6 separate regions of the Homo sapiens genome follow, and regions 2, 3, 4, 5 and 6 are each linked to region 1. Evidence: promoter capture Hi-C in 16 types of primary human blood cells and fetal thymus (Javierre and others, 2016). All regions are on one chromosome and are shown on one strand. Each heading gives the region's core, a stretch centred on a gene start or on the middle of the fragment in contact. The rest is flanking DNA. Distances are from core to core; before and after follow the strand shown.

Region 1 (2,958 bases), core at 234-2,733:
GGTTTCCCTTGCAAGGCTACCCTCAGCTATGGCAATGGGGGCTCCTATAAGCCTCACAGAGAGGTGCTACTTTAAAGAGAAACTGAAAAAAGTAAATAGGATCATATTACAGTGGAGCTGCTGAAACCTACGGCTTTAGGGCAAAAATGAAGTTATTTCACTTCAACTACCTTTAAAAAGCACAGACATTCCGAATTACAAGCAATTCTACCGCAGGAGACATGGATGTAATGTTTATACCCATCTGTGAACCTATCTAATGATGCCCTGGTGCAAAGATGAATAGATTCAGTTAAGAAATGATTGGTTTCTCTCTTTTCTTTTCATGTCTTCAGTTCCACTAGTAGTTACTACTTACAGGCTTCCTTGTGTCTCACACAACAGGTTTTTTCCCCTCTTAAATGAGAGTTACCCTCAGAGTGTGCTTTCAATCTGGATGTTAGCCCCTAGAGCTTCGCTGCTATAAATTCGTGTCCAAGTCTGCCTTCGTAATTAAACATGCTTTAGTTCTAAAATCTAAGTGAGTTAAGTGATTTTGATGTCGTTGCCCAAGATTTTTGGTTTTGTTTTTCGTAACTCCACATTTCCAGGTTTGAGGACCACAGTACAAGTTCCCTAAACAAGCCATCTCCACCAGGGCTGAGACTTAAGTAGGTATCAATGAGCAAACCCAGACGCCAGCAAGTAATTCTTTGTTACAACTATTTTCAGCTGCACATTTTTTTAAAATGGTTTTGAAACTTCCTGACAAACAATTTCATTCACAGCATGAGAAATAATGTAATCATGAGACATAGCAAAGACAAAGTATAAATATTTCCCTTACCTGGATCATGGAAAGGCACCAACGCAAAGTTGAAAAGAGGTCTTTTAGGTCTTTTCAAAGACGTCTCCAAAATTTTGGAAGCCCCTTCAATCACCTGAACTAAATCATCATACATAGAACCAGTCACATCAAACACAAAAGCCAACGTGGAGGCCCCCTCGGGAATTTCCTCAGCTCTGATCTCTGACTGGGGGCTCGCATCTTGAGCTAGGGAAGAATAAAGAAGAGCAAACAGGAATACTGTATGGACAACTTCCCAGGAAATCATTTTCTTTTTTTTCCCCCTCTTTTTCCCCCTCAGCGCCTAAGCACTGTGCTCAGTCCTCCTCAACAACAGGCAGAGGGTTTCCTCTCAGAGTAACTCATCAGACTCTTGGAATCTCTGAACTAGCAAAAAGTTTGGCGCTGAGAATCAGACGGGGACAAGCACCAAACTCGAATCCCTCCAGGGGTTGGGCAGGGCAGGGATGCGGCAGCTTTTGTCTGGATGCGGCTTCCTCCTGGACTGCTATCTGCCCGCGGGCCCTGGACAGCCTGTGGCGGAGTGCGGGCGGCGCGTCGGGTCCATGCCCCGGGGGCAGCTCTGAGCCTGCGGCGCCGCGGCCCGAATCCCGCTGCCCTCGCCGCCGCCGCTGCTCTCCGCCTGGGCCAGCGACTGAGGTTCCCAACTTTCCACTGTTTGCAGCTCACGAGCGACGAGGGGAAGCCTGGCTCGGCCTCGCCTCCTGATTGGCCAGTTGCCGTCCTCCCTCCTTTGCTCTGGAGGCCCCCCCGGAGGGTGACTTTTCCCTCCACTGATTGTAGGGTCAATTCAGTCCCAGGGAAGCGCTTACGGTGTCAGCTCGGTTCCCACCGGCACCGTTCCTAACCTGCAAAACGCTAGTGTAAACAATGGCTTTCAAGAATGTGTGGCAAAGACCCAAACCGAGGGACACCACACTAGCACAAAGGGAATTTTGTTTTTCTATTGTGTACAACGCGGCTTTAGACACCTCTTTCCTAATTCCCCCCAAAAGTCAAGACGCCCCAGCCCAGCCTCCTGCCTCTCAGCCCACAACTCGGCCCAGCCAGGAGGGGGAGCTGGAAAATTCTCTCAGCTGCGAGGCAGCCACACTATCGCTCTTTGATCTCCTCTGAGACTCTGGACTGCAGGGAAGGAAGGGAGGACAACGCTGAAGGGGCAAGAAGCCCAGGAAGAGGAAAGGGGCTGCTGAGGGAAATGAGAGACAAGAACTAGGTAGTCACTAACTGTAGAGGGGAATGTGAATACAGGATGGAAGCCCCGTAGAAAGGACAAGGAGGAGGGGCGAGAGAGGTGTGGGGAAAGATGAGACATAAAATTCATATTAAAGAGAAAATTGATTTTTTAATTGTATTATCAAGATTCACATTTGCTGAGCAGTTTGAATCCTACGCTCAGCATAGTAAGGCAGAATAATATCCCCGTTTCAGATTTCCTCCCCTGGAACAGTCATGCCTCAGGTCTCAGCCAAAGATCTATTGGAAAGGTGCTCCCCTCTATGGCATTTTCTTGCCAGTCAAGAAGGAAACCTCACCCTGGAAGACATGCCAACGTTTTTCCGTGTTGTGATTGCTATATACGTTATAGTACTAATAACAGAGATAAGAGGATAAGCAAAGAAAGTCTACCATGAACTAAGGATTCTTTATGTCATTTTAATAAAAACGCATTTCCTTCCTGGAAAAGGAGTTGTTGTCCAGATCCCAGCATTTAAAGAGGGGCAAACAGGCATCTTGATCTCTGTTTGGATGTATATTAGACCGCCCACCCAACGGAGATGCAGCCTGAGGAAGAGTTAGCTCCCACCAACCTTTTGTAATCTACAACTGTCTTCTCTTTCAGTCCCAGCGGCTGTGGAACCCGAGTTTATGATACCTATAAGTCATGTCACTTAAAGGAAGCAGACAGGCCATTTGGGCTGAGTGGGAATATGAGAGGAAAGGGGGAAGGTACTTCCTTCTCAAGCAGTATTTAGAGAATGCTATTTGAGTCTCCCATTCCGTTGTTTATTTAAAAAGGATTTCATTCTAAGTCTTAGAGACCTGAGCTATTCCAGGTGCTCAAGGGAGGCCACAGAGCCTAGTGATTAAGAGTTCTGGGTCAGATACCC
Region 2 (2,958 bases), core at 307-2,806, 570 kb before region 1:
TTGGGGGTAGTTGGGGCAGGCTTCTTGGGGGTGGTGGGTGCAGGCTCCTTGGGAGTGGTGGGTGCAGGCTCCTTGGTGGTGGTGGGTGAAGGCTCCTTGGGAGTGGTGGGTGCAGACTTGGTAGTGGTGGGTGCAGGCTCCTTGGTAGTGGTGGGTGCAGACTTGGTGGTGGTGGGTGCAGGCTCCTTGGGAGTGGTGGGTGAAGGCTCCTTGGTGGTGGTGGGTGCAGGCTCCTTGGGAGTGGTGGGTGCAGGCTCCTTGGGGGTAGTTGGGGCAGGCTTCTTGGGGGCAGTGGGTGCAGGCTCTTTGGGAGTGGTGGGTGCAGGCTCCTTGGTGGTGGGTGCAGGCTCCTTGGGAGTGGTGGGTGTAGGCTCCTTGGGAGTGGTGGGTGCAGGCTCCTTGGGGGTAGTTGGGGCAGGCTTCTTGGGGGTGGTGGGTGCAGGCTCCTTGGGAGTGGTGGGTGCAGACTTGGTGGTGGTGGGTGCAGGCTCCTTGGTGGTGGTGGGTGCAGGCTCCTTGGGAGTGGTGGGTGCAGGCTCCTTGGTGGTGGTGGGTGCAGGCTCCTTGGGAGTGGTGGGTGCAGACTTGGTGGTGGTGGGTGCAGGCTCCTTGGGGGTGGTGGGTGCAGACTTGATGGTGGTAGGTGTGGGCTCTTTGGGTGTGGTAGATGCAGGCTCCTTGGGAGTGGTGGGCGTGGGCTCCTTGGGAGTGGTGAGAGCAGGGCCTTTGGTTGTAGTTTCAGCTTTGGGTGTAGGTTTAGCCAGCACTTTAGATGTGGGTGCTAAATCTTTAGCAGATGTTTTCTCTATACTTTGTGTCTCTTTAGCGGAAGTAGTCTTCTCTTTTCCATCAGTTGAAGTCTGTTTATTTGTTGTAGTAGTTTCTTTAGTTTCAACTGTTGTCTCTTTATTCACTGTCAAAGACGTCTCTTTAGATGTATCAGAATTAGGTGGAAGACTGGGTCTGGGATTTATTGGTTTTGCTGTTGTGATCTTGGGAGATGTGCTGACTTTATTGTGTTGGGTGGTAGACGTGTCAGGAGTTGTGACCTTGAAGTCACCATTGTCCAATCCACTTCCAGCTTCATCTACAACTGGTGGTTTGGGGGTAGGTTTCTTTTTAGTTCTGTTCTTCTTGTTATCTTTTACTGGAGAAAAAATATACATCTTGTTATTTTAGAATATTTTTTTTTCTTTAATAGTGACATAAAGATCCCATCTTTATCATTGACTAGTTGTGTGTTTCTAAGCAAATTGCTAATCTCTACTATGTCCTTTAATTTGTTGTAAAATGGCAAATACTCAACCTATCTTATTGGGCTGTTTTAGGGAATAAATGAGATGAGGGATGAAAAAGCACAAATAAAACTCTATACAATTAATACATGGAAGTCAGTGGCAAGTTCAAAATTACCAACACGATAAATAACACTAATTCATCTGTTTATATTAATGTTCTTTACCCCCTACTTTTTGTACTCTTATTCTTCAGTGCCCAGTGTCCCTTCCTTCCTCCTGGAAACCTAGTACTACCATCTTGCTGCACCAATTATCTCAGAGGCCTCTACAGCTACCTCTGAGCAATCTGCCCCAGTCACCCCCACAGTCCCTGCTGAGCCTTGTTCCCATACATAGGGCTATTAGCCACTCCTTTTCTTCTGCGCAGCTAACCTTGCAGGTCCCAGGGGACATAAGGAGGAGCTTAGGGTGTGATGGGCAGCAAAAAGACAGTATTTATCAAGGCTTTCCCATAGCAGCTGCCCCACATGTGGACTACAAAGCCCAAGGGTGGCTTCCTGCACGATTTTCTGGGTGACTAAAAGATTAAATGCCTGGCTATTTATTTAGAGCGAATGCTTCGGAGGAAATCACAACCTCTTAGAGTTCTTTAAAACTCCCTTATCCAAAAATCCAGTATTTCCTGGAGAAAGAGAATATATATTTAGAACCAGAACTTCAGGAAATAATAAACAGCAAAGGAAATCTCTTTTCAGGCAATAATAGCCTATTCTGTAGCACAGTCTCTACTAGAGGAAAAGTCAGCCAGATATAATATATAAGTTACTAGGAAAATAAAGAGGATTTGTAAAATATGGATAATATTTTTTCCATAGAGGTTTGTAAGAATTTAATGAGTTAATACTTGTAAAACACTTAGAACAATAGTATATAAATGTTTGTTAAAATAAAGCTGGGGAAGGGAAAATGAAAATGCAAGGAAGATGAAGGAGAAGAAGCAAAATGATGTCAAGTAAACAAGAATGACAGTAGAAAGCCATCAATAATCATCTCTGGTGCCATCTTGTGGTTCCACAGTCCTGCTACAGCATCTTCTTATCCTTTGCTTTTAGAGTGGCTTCTTAGCCGCTTGGCACTAATTTCCTGTAGGAAGTATTCATTTGGTACTTTCTAAGATAATATTCATAAAGTTATATTCCCCCCCATATTAAGATGTCCTCATTCTGCCAACACGCATTACTTTTAAATATAATCATTGTTAATATGGCATTGATACAGTCTTTGATCTTTATCAATGCTCAAACCTTTGAGTTTCTTCTGTAATTCTCTATTAGCAGCTGAATTTTTGGAAGACTTGATTTTCCGAATTGTTGAAGAAGAAGAGGAAGAGGAGGAGGAGGAGGAGGACTCTTGATTTTCAGAAACAGAATGTTCTATAAATCAAATAGAAAGTTTGATCACACCAACTGTGATTTAAAACAAAAAAGAACCACCAGTCTAAACACAGCAAGAAGTGCTATTTACTAGTCTACAAGTATCTGGATTTTGCTTTTATTAGTAATATGACCAACTGCCTTTTAATCTGTCAGTTAAAAGCAAGGCACCTGGGCTTATCACAGATACTAGCAGTATTACTAGTATCTCTCAACTTTCCCATATCCTCCAAAACACAGAATCAAATTATTCTACAAAGAAAATCATGGGGTGGTTTTTGTTTTTT
Region 3 (2,958 bases), core at 188-2,687, 550 kb before region 1:
TGAGCACACACCAAGGCCTGACCAGGTGGCGCGCCATCTACAAGACGTTCAATCCGACACCCTGCAAGGGCCACCCTTCCAGCTTAGGAGGAACAGCTGGCTAATCACGTCAGTTCTAAAACTTCTGCCCCAGCTCAGGACTGGGGCTATTTTTTCTCATATGTAATCTGAATTTTTTAATACTTTTCCTTTTCTTTTTTAGATATTAAAAAAATTATCTGATTAAGGATGAGAAAAATATATTTAAAAAAACAGCATGGAAACTCATAACTGCAATTGCATCAACCTTTATCATAGCTTCAACCTTTATCATGAAGCCTAAGCTAGGCTTCACATCTTGATTTTAAACTCTGGGAAAGGGAGCCATGCCTTGCTTTGGACCAATTCAACATTAAGCAGAGATTTAGTAGATGTGAGTAGTTTCTTGACTACTAGACTATTACTTATATCATCATAAAATAGGGCACAGGAATATAAAGTTTGGAGGCAAATCCAGATACAATAGAACAGTGTATAAATTTAAATATACTGTATGATACCTAATATTTCAGCATATTTAGTAAAAATCAACAGAATAACACGAGGCATTTGTCTTGTTCCACACAAGCTTTAAAAAGGCATTTTGATATACCATGGACTAATGGGAAAATGTGTATTCATAATCTAATTGGTGTACTATCATAAACTTTGAAAGCTGTTGAAAAATTCTCCTGTGGGTAAAAAGACTATTATATGGAAAATCATATAACAAAGTAACTCAAGTGTAGGCTTTGTCAATCACTAGCTATGTGAACCTAGGTAAATTATGTAGCCACTCTGGCCAAGAATACCTATTGTGGAAGGATGTTGTAATGATCCACACAGGTTAATGCATCTAAAGCACTTAGAAGAATACTAGCTGCATAATATATACTCAGCAAAAGTTAGCTTTTATTATTGGTGTTCTTTTAATTACATGAGTTGAAGAGTTATTTGGTGTGCCGTCAAATTTCATGGTAAAATGACTATCTTCAGAGACTTAACAGATTATCATATGGAAGAGTATGGCATTCTGTCATAGAAAATGGTAGAGAAGGAAAGATCCAGGTTGGAATCACAACAGTTCACTGGTATATCATAAAATATCACAGAATCTCAATCTCAACTAGATTCTCTCTACTTGCCCCTCTACCCCATCCAACCCCCAGATCAAACCTTGATGTGAATAAAGCTGAGCACCTTCAATGTTTTTAAACAATAATTATAATCTGTAAATACAGCATTTTTATGTTTTTTAACTTTTGTGACAATTTCTGAAGAAGTACAAAGGGGATTTTTGTTGTTGTTTTTCAGGAACACCTGCTAACTCACTGGTTCTCTCCTCCATTCTCCATAGCTGACCCAAATATTTTATGACAGTGATTATAATGATAAATAATTAGGATGTATATATGATAAAATAACACTTAACTATTCATATTGGCCACTATAAAGTTTAAAACTCAATTTATGGCTTAGATCTAATAAGAGTCTCTTGAGTCACATAATTGTTCTATAAAGTAGTGTGTAATTCAAATGCTTCAATAAAATAAATTCTCTGGGAGGAAATAAAATAGACGTAGGAGATATGTTCAGATACGTTTTATTAATACCATTCATCTTCTTGTCTGTCATATAAAATTTGTACCAACAGTGGTTTTTGAGAAAGCAAATATAATGGATTCAATGTTCATGTCCCCCCTCCAAATTCATATGCTGAAATCCTAACTCCCAGTATAATGGTATTGGGAGCTGGGGCCTTTGGAGGTAATTTAGGTTGTGATGGTGGAGCTCTTATGAATGGGATTAGTGTGCCCACTAATGGAAAAGAGACCTCAGAGAGTTCTCTACCCCTGCTCCCACCATCTAAAGATACAAAAAGAAGTCAGTAGTCTGCAGCTTGGAAGAGGTCCCTCACCAGAGGCCAACTCTACTGGCACCCTCATTGGAAACTTCCAGCTTCCAGAGCTGTGAGAAATAAATTTCTATCGTTTATATGCCACCCAATATACAGTACTTTGTTATAACATCTCAAATTGACTAAGACAGCAAGTAGATTAAACATGTTAATGATATGAATGTAAAAATTAGGACAATCTCCAATCAATATCCAAATGATAGCCTACAAACAAACCTGGGGAGGAAAGAGTAAGGAAACAACTGTCACAGAAACATCACTGAAATAAATTTAAAATGTAGCATCTGTTAGTTTAAGTTTTAGCATGGAAATTGAGGAAGAGAAAGCTTGTGTTCTCTTTGTCCTGGGCACACAGTTGGATTGCATTTACCAGCATTCTATATAATTGGGGCGGGGGCCACATGATTGTGTAATGGATTGTGGGCAGAAGTGATGTACACCTCTTTTATTTTGGATGAAGTGGAGGACTCCAGTGCCCTAGATGATGGCAGAGCCACTTCATGGGAGAAGTCTGGATCCATGGATGACCATCAACCAGAGGCTCCCCTCTCCTCTTCCCTGCATTGGACTGTGCCATGAAGCATAAATAAACTTTAATTGTGTATTAAAAATATGAGAGGAGTTATTTTTTTCTTAAATGGCAGTTAGCATAGCCTGACTAAAACAGAAATCTTACAAAACTAGTAAAACATAAATTGAATTTTCTTCTGGAGTACACCCTTGAGATAAAATAGAAAAACACTCCCATCTCTGGTGAGTAATTTTATGAAGTGCCTGTGGCACTTGGTAAAAAGAGGCTGCTGAGTGGAAAATCCCCTTACATCAAGCTGTGAGTAGCTTAGTTATCCGAAACTGATCCTCAACTTCCCCGTTTTGGAAACCTTAAAATGTGATGAGCAGTTTCAATGATACTATTCCACGTGGTATTACATTTTTTTAAAGTACCATTTCCATCATTATTTTTGTAAAGATATAGAGGATATTTACTTGTCACAATCCCTGGACACAGAAGCAGAGCCCAT
Region 4 (2,958 bases), core at 176-2,675, 550 kb after region 1:
CTTCTACAAAGTTACCAATTCATAGTCTTAAAGCCATGCAGTGCTGTGAATCTTCCTAGTGGGTTGGGAGAGAGTAACTTTCTAAACTTAGAAGTGATAAAAATAAATCAGATATTTAAAAAAAAGATAGATGAGTCTTATCAATCTGCATAAGCTTTTCATATAATGAGGACACAAGAGAATTACTGCCTATTCTGAACCATAAGCTATTAGTTTAATATATTAACTCAACCAATCTTCACAACCATTTTATGACGTGGAATTTATTTCCTCTCATTTCATTTATTCAGTTTCTTCACCTTTAACTTCCCCCGGGTTATGCTATAAACCCAGGTTGATCATATTTCAAATCCTATGTTCCTCTCACTATAATAGATCAATACTATATCAAATAAATATAATTTTGCAAATAGTTAAGGACAAGGCTAAAATTATAGTCAACTAAAGCTACTTGACATGGACCATCTTCACTCAAAATTCATAAGCATTATATCTGGAATATACTAAGAACTAATAAATATTTGTTTAGACAATGAATGAATGGTAGAGACCCTTTTTCTTCAAAATTTTAAGACTAAACAAAAATTTTAGACTAAAGTAATTCATCTTAAGATGAATCTAATCATGGCTTTTAAAGCCTTCTCATAGTTAATACCATAATTGGATTCCTCTTAAGATGAATTCTTTCAAATCTTACGGTGAATATGGGTGCAGTGGACAGTACAAATCCGTGGTATTTAAAATAATGTAAGCTTACATATATAAATAATTCTGAGCTGGGAAGAAACAAATTCTGAAAGAATGAAATAAATCTTCTAAATATATATGTATAAACTCCACAGAAATAAGTGTTCCTTTATATATAGATATTTTTCCAGCAAATTATATAAAACATAAAGAACATCCTTAGCTTCTAAGACTAAAGCAATTTTTTAAATGCCTTAATAGAAACTAATATTGAAAAAAATTAAATGAGGGGAAAATCTATACACTACTTTATTGTAAAAACACCTCATTCATTATTACCGATTCTGACAAACCACAGGAAAGCAACATCGTCTCCACAGTACATTAACTGCATATGGTGATATTAACAGACTAGAAACCTAGATCACTTACAGACTTCATCACTCAGCAATGGTATTTTTAAAAAAGGAGTCCAAGGTTCTGGGATATAGATAATTATGCATACACAACTATACAGTCACTATCTGTGAAATATAGACATAATGTAAAAACGTCTAGGAGAAGCAGAAAAATAAAAGTCAAAGACTCCTAAACTAAGCCACAAACCATCACAATGCCCCTTCCATTTCACATTCCAATGGGTTTAAATGTTTTAAAAGTTTTGCACCATTTCCCTCCAATAATGAGTCTGCACCCAAACAAGTATTAATCAGGAGGCACTCTGAGAGAACAATACTTACAATGTTTTTGGGATGCAAGTTGTATTGACTGACCCCATAGCTTTCTATCTTGATTTTTGAGACTGTCGTTGATGAAATGAACTGCAGGTATAGCTTTGTGCTGGGCACGTTTTAGTAGTTTTCCTTCCTTCATACGATCTAGCTCTTGCATAACGACCCAGGGAATTATTAACACAAGTTTGTCAAAACCTAAAAAATAAAAAGATTTCTTAGAATTTAACAAACATTTATTGAGCTACTAAATGGAATTGCTGTCCAAGAGGTAAAAGTTTTAAAGCACACAGTCCCTACCTTTAGGAAATTCACAATAAATTGAGAGACAATATATTATAAAATGGAAATTAAAAAGAAAATAACGTGTCAAAAGAATGTTAAAAAAATAATTACTCTTGGAGATCAAAAAAAGAGTGAGTTCAGATTGCTAGTTTAACCTGTAAAGGCTTTTATAAACTTATAACACTGAATATGCTTAATATATAGCATATCTAAATGGAGACATGTTCATGGCAAAAAAAGCCCATCATTGTTAATATAAAATATCAACTCAAGGAAGAAAATCAGAATCTTTAAATATGTTCTGTAAATACCTGGTACTTCTGTTGTCTTCAAAATTCTAACAAATTTGAGATGATTCATCAGAATATTTGTGTCAATAACAATTAGAAGCTTTCTGTCTGAAGTATTATTTGCTAAAGAAAAAGAGCAAATATTTCATGACACTTGATAACAGACTTATATAATGACTAAAATTTTGATATTACAGAAGCATTGAAAATTCAATTAAATTTAAAACGCCTCTTTGTCTTGTTAACTGTATCAGAGATTTACACAGTTGGCTAGACTCTCAAGCTGATATCTATCCGGCCCGTATCCTTGTTGCCAAGTAAATTTCTCCCCAATCAATTAAGGTCCTCTGGATAGGAATTGCAACCCCTGTTTGGAGTGGGAGTGGGGTGGAGAATCGTCTAAGTCAAAGTGGGCAGAGAAGGTAAGGGTTGGCAAAGCAGAAATACACGGGAAACCTGGGGCCAAGACTGTGAAAAACCAGCCATGGAGAATGTTTTTGAGAGCATTCTTAAGAGAAGTCCTTTAGACAATAAAAACAAAATTGCTTTTACTTCGATTCTTAAGAGAAAGAATAGTAATCAATGTTTAATCACCCACCAGTAGAATACTATAAATTGCTTGTAGGTGGATTTTAAATTATGAACTGACTTGCCTGGGGAGTAATTATGTTTCTAACTTCTGTCATGGATCACCGGTAGTTGTGCACTTAGTAATTATAAGCTAATTTTAACATATCCTGAGTGAATATAATTGAAAGATGAATATGTGTAAAAGAAAATACATGCTGGGCTTGGTGGCTCACGCCTGTAATCCCAGCACTTTGAGAGGCCGAGGCGGGCCAATCACCTGAGGTCAGGAGTTCGAGATCAGCCTGGCCAACACAGTGGAACTCCAGCTCTACTAAAAATTAGCCAGGCATGGTGGCACACGCCTGTAGTCCCAGCTACTCAGGAGGCTGAGGCAG
Region 5 (2,958 bases), core at 314-2,813, 520 kb before region 1:
CACACTGAAGTAATAGATTTATTCATTTAGCCTTTGCTTTTGTGAGACTTGTCATCAAAGAAGGTAGAGTGTCAATGGTAATTTGGAGACATTACTTCATTACCAATGGATCTGAGACCGTAATTGGTTTCCTTTCCTAAACCATGTGTATCATGCACATCTGTTAAAAAGGAGAGTTGTTTGCAGAGTCAATACAATTTTGCCATTACAAAATCTGCAAAGGGACATAACAACAGAGTCTCTTCCAAACTTGCAGTTTAAACATAATATTTTTCTTTACCTGCTTTCCCACTGAAATTAATTTAAATTTAAACTAAGCTAAAGGATGTTTATAGTTAGAAGGAAAATGCCCAGTTGAAGCTGTGAAGCCAACGTAGCAGAAATGGAATCTTTCCAACCTGAAATCATTTCATAGTATGATTTAATGGTGACAAAACATGAGTTCCCAGAAAAATATAATTTCCATTTCCCTTACTGCAAGTGTTCATGCAGTTTGAATTGTTAATATCCCTGAACCTAGACCAACATCAGGAAGTGCCCTGAATATAAGTGATTTTCCAGTTATTTCCTTAGATGTGGAAGGCAAAAATGCAGCAGAATACAAATGGGCCCAATCTGATTATATTAAGTGTGCCTCAGGGAAACGGCTTTGTGAGAAACCGGTATTACTATTAGAGATTATAAAGTATACAGTTAAGGACATTAGAGAAATATCATATTAACGGGAATGTTAAGAGCCATCTTAATGACTGGGGAAGCTTGGAACAGAGGCATATTTTACATAATATTAAGAAAGACATTAACTATGGGAAGCTATCAAAACAGTAAGTTAAAAAATAGGAAAGAAACTGGGGTGAAATTGGTTATATTTTTGCCTCTTGGGATTAAAGACAAAGAAACAACAATAAAAAGCAGTTTGAAATTGAACCATCTTTAGTCACTCTAAACTCCAGAGAGAGAAACTTAATTTACCAAATAGAAATCACATCTGGTCTCCACATAGAGGCAACATGTAATTGCTGACCTCTACCTGCCCGATTTCTACACTGTTTCTGGGAGAATAGCCCATCATTGTTTCCCTTCGGGGTAAGCACACCAAGCAAATATGAGCAAATTTTTGAAGGTTTCATAAGAAGCTGGTAGTGGTTTTACAGTAGGTAATTGTGTTATTCTGTTCCTATGAGCAGAGCTAATTGAGTGCATTATCCTATAGCCAAAATTTTTCCTTTAAAAACTGTGAAATGAATGAAGTTCAGTAAAGATGAATAAGGCTGGTTAAAAGTGCTGTGGAAAGTGATCATGATTTAACACTTTTAAATGCTTGGCAAGAAGGTCTACTCAGTCTTTTGTAAGGGCTCTAGCATTTGATGTGTATTACACGTTCCCAAAGAAAGGTATTTGATTTTGAATCATGGATCTGCTCGAAGACATATTCTTTTTAAAAAAAGTTGATGCCACTCCGCTACATGTTCATGGTCTTCCATGGTCACCAAAGTCCAATTTAATCTTATCTTGTGGGTGGTTATATGATATTTTTGTTGAGCTAATCATGTAGCATGGGTGGTGTGTTAGTTTCCTATTGCTGTTGTAACAAATTACCACAAATTTATTGGCTTAAAATAATGCAAATTTATTATCTTAGTAAATTGACGTTTTGAAGGTCAGAGGTCAGAAATGGATCTTCTAGGGCGAACATCAAGGTGTCTGCAGGGTTGAGTTCCCTCTTCAGGCTCTGGGGGAGAAAAGTTTCCATGCCTTTTCCAGTTTCTAGAGCTGCCTACATTCCTCACCTCCTGGCTGCATCCACTCTGACCTCTGCTTCAGTCATCACATCTGTTCTTTGACCTTCCTGCCTCACTGTTCTTGTAAGGACCCTCATGATTTTTATATTGAACCACTGTCAAAAATAAACACAGCTGGACATTAAAGCAGTGAATACAGATTTTATTCAATAACCACTGAGTGTTGGGGAAAGAGCCCAGCTCCATTCCGATGTATGCAGGGGTGATTGGGTATTTTAAAGAAAGAATGAGGGAATAGGGAGAGGGAATGTCAGGGGTTTAGCAGAATTAGGGAAGTGAACAATTACAGTAAGTGGGAAGGGGGGTTGGTGCATGTGAAACCCATCTGGGTTTGCTAACTGGCACTTGTTGAAATGTGGCTCCTGCTCTCCCACAGAGATGGGGAAACAGAGGCCAAATCTCCAGGTATTGGCTAGAACAAACAGTAAGTGATTCTGGCAGTCTTATAATCACCAAAGTTCAGTTTTTACGAGTAACTCTGTGATTATAGTGATTCTATTTAGTTTCCAAATAAATGTATTTATTCATGTAATTAAAAAACATTGAGTATTAGCTATAAAAGCTTTAATTCCTCAAGGGGTCTTCAGATAGAGACTATTTTCTTTATCCCTGACTCTCCTGTCCCTACCACAGTGCCTTGAATATCAATAATCAATAATTCTTTGACATAGGTAAGTAAACATGTTTGATGCAGCTATGAGAGAAGGAAGCACAGGGAACACTCCTATGGATATGACAACATACGGTGTGCGATTTGGGAATCAAAATATTTTGGGTCTTGGTATTGTAGCAGACGTATATACTAGGCAGTTGAGAAAATAGGATTATAAAGGGCATTGAGGAAAAACAATTTCAAGGTTGATATTGTAGAAGACAGAAGGTGAAACCCTGTCTCTACTAAAAATACAAAAATTAGCCGGGCATGGTGGCGGGTGCATGTAATCCCAGCTACTCAGGAGGGTGAGGCAGGAGAATCGCTTGAACCCGGGAGATAGAGGTTGCAGTGAGCTGGTTGCACTCCAGTGTGGGTGAAAAAGCAAGACCCTGTCTCAAAAAAAAAAAATAAAATAAAATAAAAATAAAAAAATTTAAAAAAAGAATAAACCAGGTGGAGATGGGGAAAGGCATCAGAAGAAGAGGGGAGAAGATAACAGGA
Region 6 (2,958 bases), core at 160-2,659, 520 kb after region 1:
AGAGAAAGAAAACAATAAAGCAAATGTGACAAAATATTAACATTTGGAGAATCAGGGTAAATAATATATATGGGAATTCTTTGTACTGCTCTTGTAACCATTTTATAAGTTTGAAATTATTTCAAAATAAAAAGTAAAACAAGGACAACAACATTACCAAGTAACACTGTCAAAAAATAGATTCAATAGGGTTTCAGACAGTGTTGACATCTGTATGTTTAAAACAATTTCCTAGGTATTTTTGATGTATGTGAGATCCACTGGCCTAGGGCACTGTAAATGAACAGTCAAATAGCATGCATAGCTTTCTTCCATCCATAAGTGAAAATAATATAAAATAAGAACAACTGCTGTGACACTGCTTCCATAAAAGGAGGTATGGGTTTTATAACTTGTTAGAGTTGCTTACTCTGTATTCAATTCACTTAACATTTACTTAACGCCTTTAGTATGTTAGAATAAGTTAGAATTAAATTATCCTTTACCTACTGTTGTCTGCTAAACACATTTTCAGAACATGTATAATTAGCTACTCTAACTGGCATTCCAAAGGCATCTTACCTCTGCAAATGTCTGAAGGAGGTTGTTTACTTGAGCAAAGGTCTGTGGAAGAATACCATCATAATTTGACCTTGTACTGAAAGCATGTAACAAACTTCTAGAATCCTGAAGCAAGAATTTGACTGTTGTAAAATCCACTGCCTTATTAGCTGGTAACAGAAAATTAAGACAGAAAAATATGGAAGAATGAGTATACATCATAAAAATGTCTTTGGAACACTAATATTAATTTTGAAATTTAAAAAGAGTATACATTTATACCTATATGCCACTCCTAAGTTATCCCTCTGGTACAAAAAGCAATAATTAAATAGATTTAGTTATAGATAAAGTCCTTTGAGTTGATTCTGGTATTCTGAATTCAGATTTCAGGAGTTCTGTCAGCACGGTCAACTTCAAAGTAAAAGTAAAGTTAAAGAATATTACACTCCCCAGAAAAAAGAGAAAATCACCAAAGAAACAAGTCAAACCACAGATTTCAATGCTGAGGTGATTTCACATAAGAGTACTGTGGAGAGATCAGAAGAGTGAGACTACACTGGTAAGCATGTCAGTTATATATGGTACCTCTCGTCATCACCTCAGCTATCTACATAGTGATTTATCTTCAACTCCATTGCATGAAACTCAATACTATGTTTATTGAAAACTATGAGTTATCTCTATATGTACAACACAACTTCAGGAGAGAAAAAAAGTTTGGGCAACAGTGAGAAGCAAAAGAAGCCTGCAGAATTTTTTTCCTGTAAATTAAAAGTGAGAAAATCTACAAACAATAATTTAAAGGTATAACAATTTTATCTCAAGGAACTAAAACTAATTACATTAACTTCTCAAACTAGTTGGGAAAGCTGGTGACAATAATTTCAAAAATTTCAAAAGTTATAAACAATAAAATTAAGTAATATCATAAAACTCAGAACAGAAAAAATTATTTCCATTATTAAAGCAGAATGCTACCTAACAGTTTTCAAAATAACCATGCTATACTGTTGTTTACTTTTTGTTTTAATGTTCACAGTTTCAGAGACTCTATTGTATTCTGAAATATCAGCATGGCTGTTCAATGGCACTATGAGTTTAAAAAACAATAAGGAGTTTCTCTGTATCACTTACACAAGAACTTGCTTGTGAAATCCTGAAGGGTCAAGTGAAATAAAAACTATATCTTAATAATTAATTCCACAATATTCAGAAACTCTAATCTAATGTAATGGTTGTAGCCAAGCCTCTGGCTTCTCCTTTATCCAAAAATATAAAAAATAATAATAAAGCAAGCCAATGTATTTCCTTACAGGAAAACTTTCATTTCTTTTTAAAGCCAATGACTAGTTTAAATTCCTGTGGGTAATGAGAGATGCTACACACAGGACAGACTGTAGATGTGATGAACTACGTAAATCCCCTGAGGAAGATATAATTGGACACAACTTCTTTTAAGGGTGCTTTTCCAATGTAACATATGTTTAATGAGGCTTACATATATGAATTAATCATTTTATTTCTGTCTTACAAAAGTTCCTAAGATTATGAGGAAAAGGGTAATAACAATAATAAATCCAGTATACAGACACAACAAAAAAAGAAATCTACATGAATGAAATAGTCTAATGCTTATATAAGGCCAATAATTATTTAAAGCTAATATGGGTAACAAAGTCATAAAAGTTACTAGTCATTTTCCACACAATTTTCTATGAACTAATCTAAGGATACATGCGTGGTATTCTCAAGTTAAACAAATATATAATTCAACAGCTGAAGGTATTATTAAAAGATAGTACACAAGAACATAAACTGTGATTTTTCTCATTCAAAATTATCTTACAGCAAGAAGTTTTTTTTTTTTTTTGAGACAGAGTTTCACTCTTGTTGCCCAGGCTGGAGTGCAATGGCGCAATCTCGGCTCACTGCAACCTCCACCTCCCGGGTTCAAGTGATTCTCCTCCCTCAGCCTCCCGAGTAGCTGGGATTATAGGCACCCACCACCACGCCCAGCTATTTTTTTTGGATTTTTAGTAAAGACAGGGTTTCACCATGTTGGCCACGCTGGCAATGAACTCCTGGCAAGAGGTACTTTTATAATCCCATGACATATTCTTCATAACTCATTAAACGTTAGGCATCAGATTCTTCGAGATCAAAGACCAATAAACTATAATGATCACAAAACTGATTTTTCAGCAGAAGATACAGTCATCACATCTTCACTTCTCTCCTTAATGGCAGTTAGAGCTGCCACCTACCACCTCTCAGCTGCGTCTAAGAGCAGACCCCCCTGCCAGGAAAAACAGATGGAAGATGGCAACTAGACACCTCATTTTTTACACTAACTTTGAGATCACACATAGTTTACGGACTTTCTCTTTTAAAAGATCAACTAAATTATGACCCAGG

What was found. Contacts are between HindIII fragments. The CHiCAGO score rates a contact against its expected background, and 5 or more counts as called.
Region 2: a contact is called between a fragment that was not itself captured here and the fragment with the promoter of HMCN1 in region 1, in 1 of 17 cell types (M1 macrophages). The highest score is 5.3, in M1 macrophages.
Region 3: a fragment that was not itself captured here is called in contact with the fragment with the promoter of HMCN1 in region 1 in 1 of 17 cell types (M1 macrophages); the score reaches 5.7 in M1 macrophages.
Region 4: a fragment that was not itself captured here is called in contact with the fragment with the promoter of HMCN1 in region 1 in 4 of 17 cell types (monocytes, total CD8 T cells, neutrophils and 1 more); the score reaches 6.7 in monocytes.
Region 5: a fragment that was not itself captured here is called in contact with the fragment with the promoter of HMCN1 in region 1 in 1 of 17 cell types (endothelial precursors); the score reaches 6.1 in endothelial precursors.
Region 6: a contact is called between a fragment that was not itself captured here and the fragment with the promoter of HMCN1 in region 1, in 1 of 17 cell types (neutrophils). The highest score is 7.2, in neutrophils.

The regions. Positions count from the first base shown.
Region 1 is chr1:185,732,916-185,735,873 of GRCh38, reverse strand. It overlaps HMCN1 (hemicentin 1), which reads right to left and starts at 1,483. Exons shown (of 107, transcript NM_031935.3): 1 at 827-1,483. The coding sequence starts at 1,094. The HindIII fragment of the contact is 13,332 bases long and covers 1-2,958 here.
Region 2 is chr1:186,304,507-186,307,464 of GRCh38, reverse strand. PRG4 (proteoglycan 4) reads right to left here. Exons shown (of 13, transcript NM_005807.6): 6 at 2,543-2,671; 7 at 1-1,147. Among named protein-coding and RNA genes, the nearest start is that of PRG4, 9.7 kb to the right of the region's middle. The HindIII fragment of the contact is 6,802 bases long and covers 1-2,958 here.
Region 3 is chr1:186,283,354-186,286,311 of GRCh38, reverse strand. No RefSeq gene overlaps it. Among named protein-coding and RNA genes, the nearest start is that of PRG4, 11 kb to the left of the region's middle. The HindIII fragment of the contact is 1,655 bases long and covers 610-2,264 here.
Region 4 is chr1:185,183,401-185,186,358 of GRCh38, reverse strand. It overlaps SWT1 (SWT1 RNA endoribonuclease homolog), which reads right to left. Exons shown (of 19, transcript NM_017673.7): 8 at 2,015-2,116; 9 at 1,428-1,616. Among named protein-coding and RNA genes, the nearest start is that of SWT1, 28 kb to the right of the region's middle. The HindIII fragment of the contact is 1,341 bases long and covers 755-2,095 here.
Region 5 is chr1:186,253,062-186,256,019 of GRCh38, reverse strand. No RefSeq gene overlaps it. Among named protein-coding and RNA genes, the nearest start is that of PRG4, 42 kb to the left of the region's middle. The HindIII fragment of the contact is 1,606 bases long and covers 761-2,366 here.
Region 6 is chr1:185,212,259-185,215,216 of GRCh38, reverse strand. SWT1 (SWT1 RNA endoribonuclease homolog) reads right to left here. Exons shown (of 19, transcript NM_017673.7): 14 at 562-710. Among named protein-coding and RNA genes, the nearest start is that of SWT1, 57 kb to the right of the region's middle. The HindIII fragment of the contact is 9,885 bases long and covers 1-2,958 here.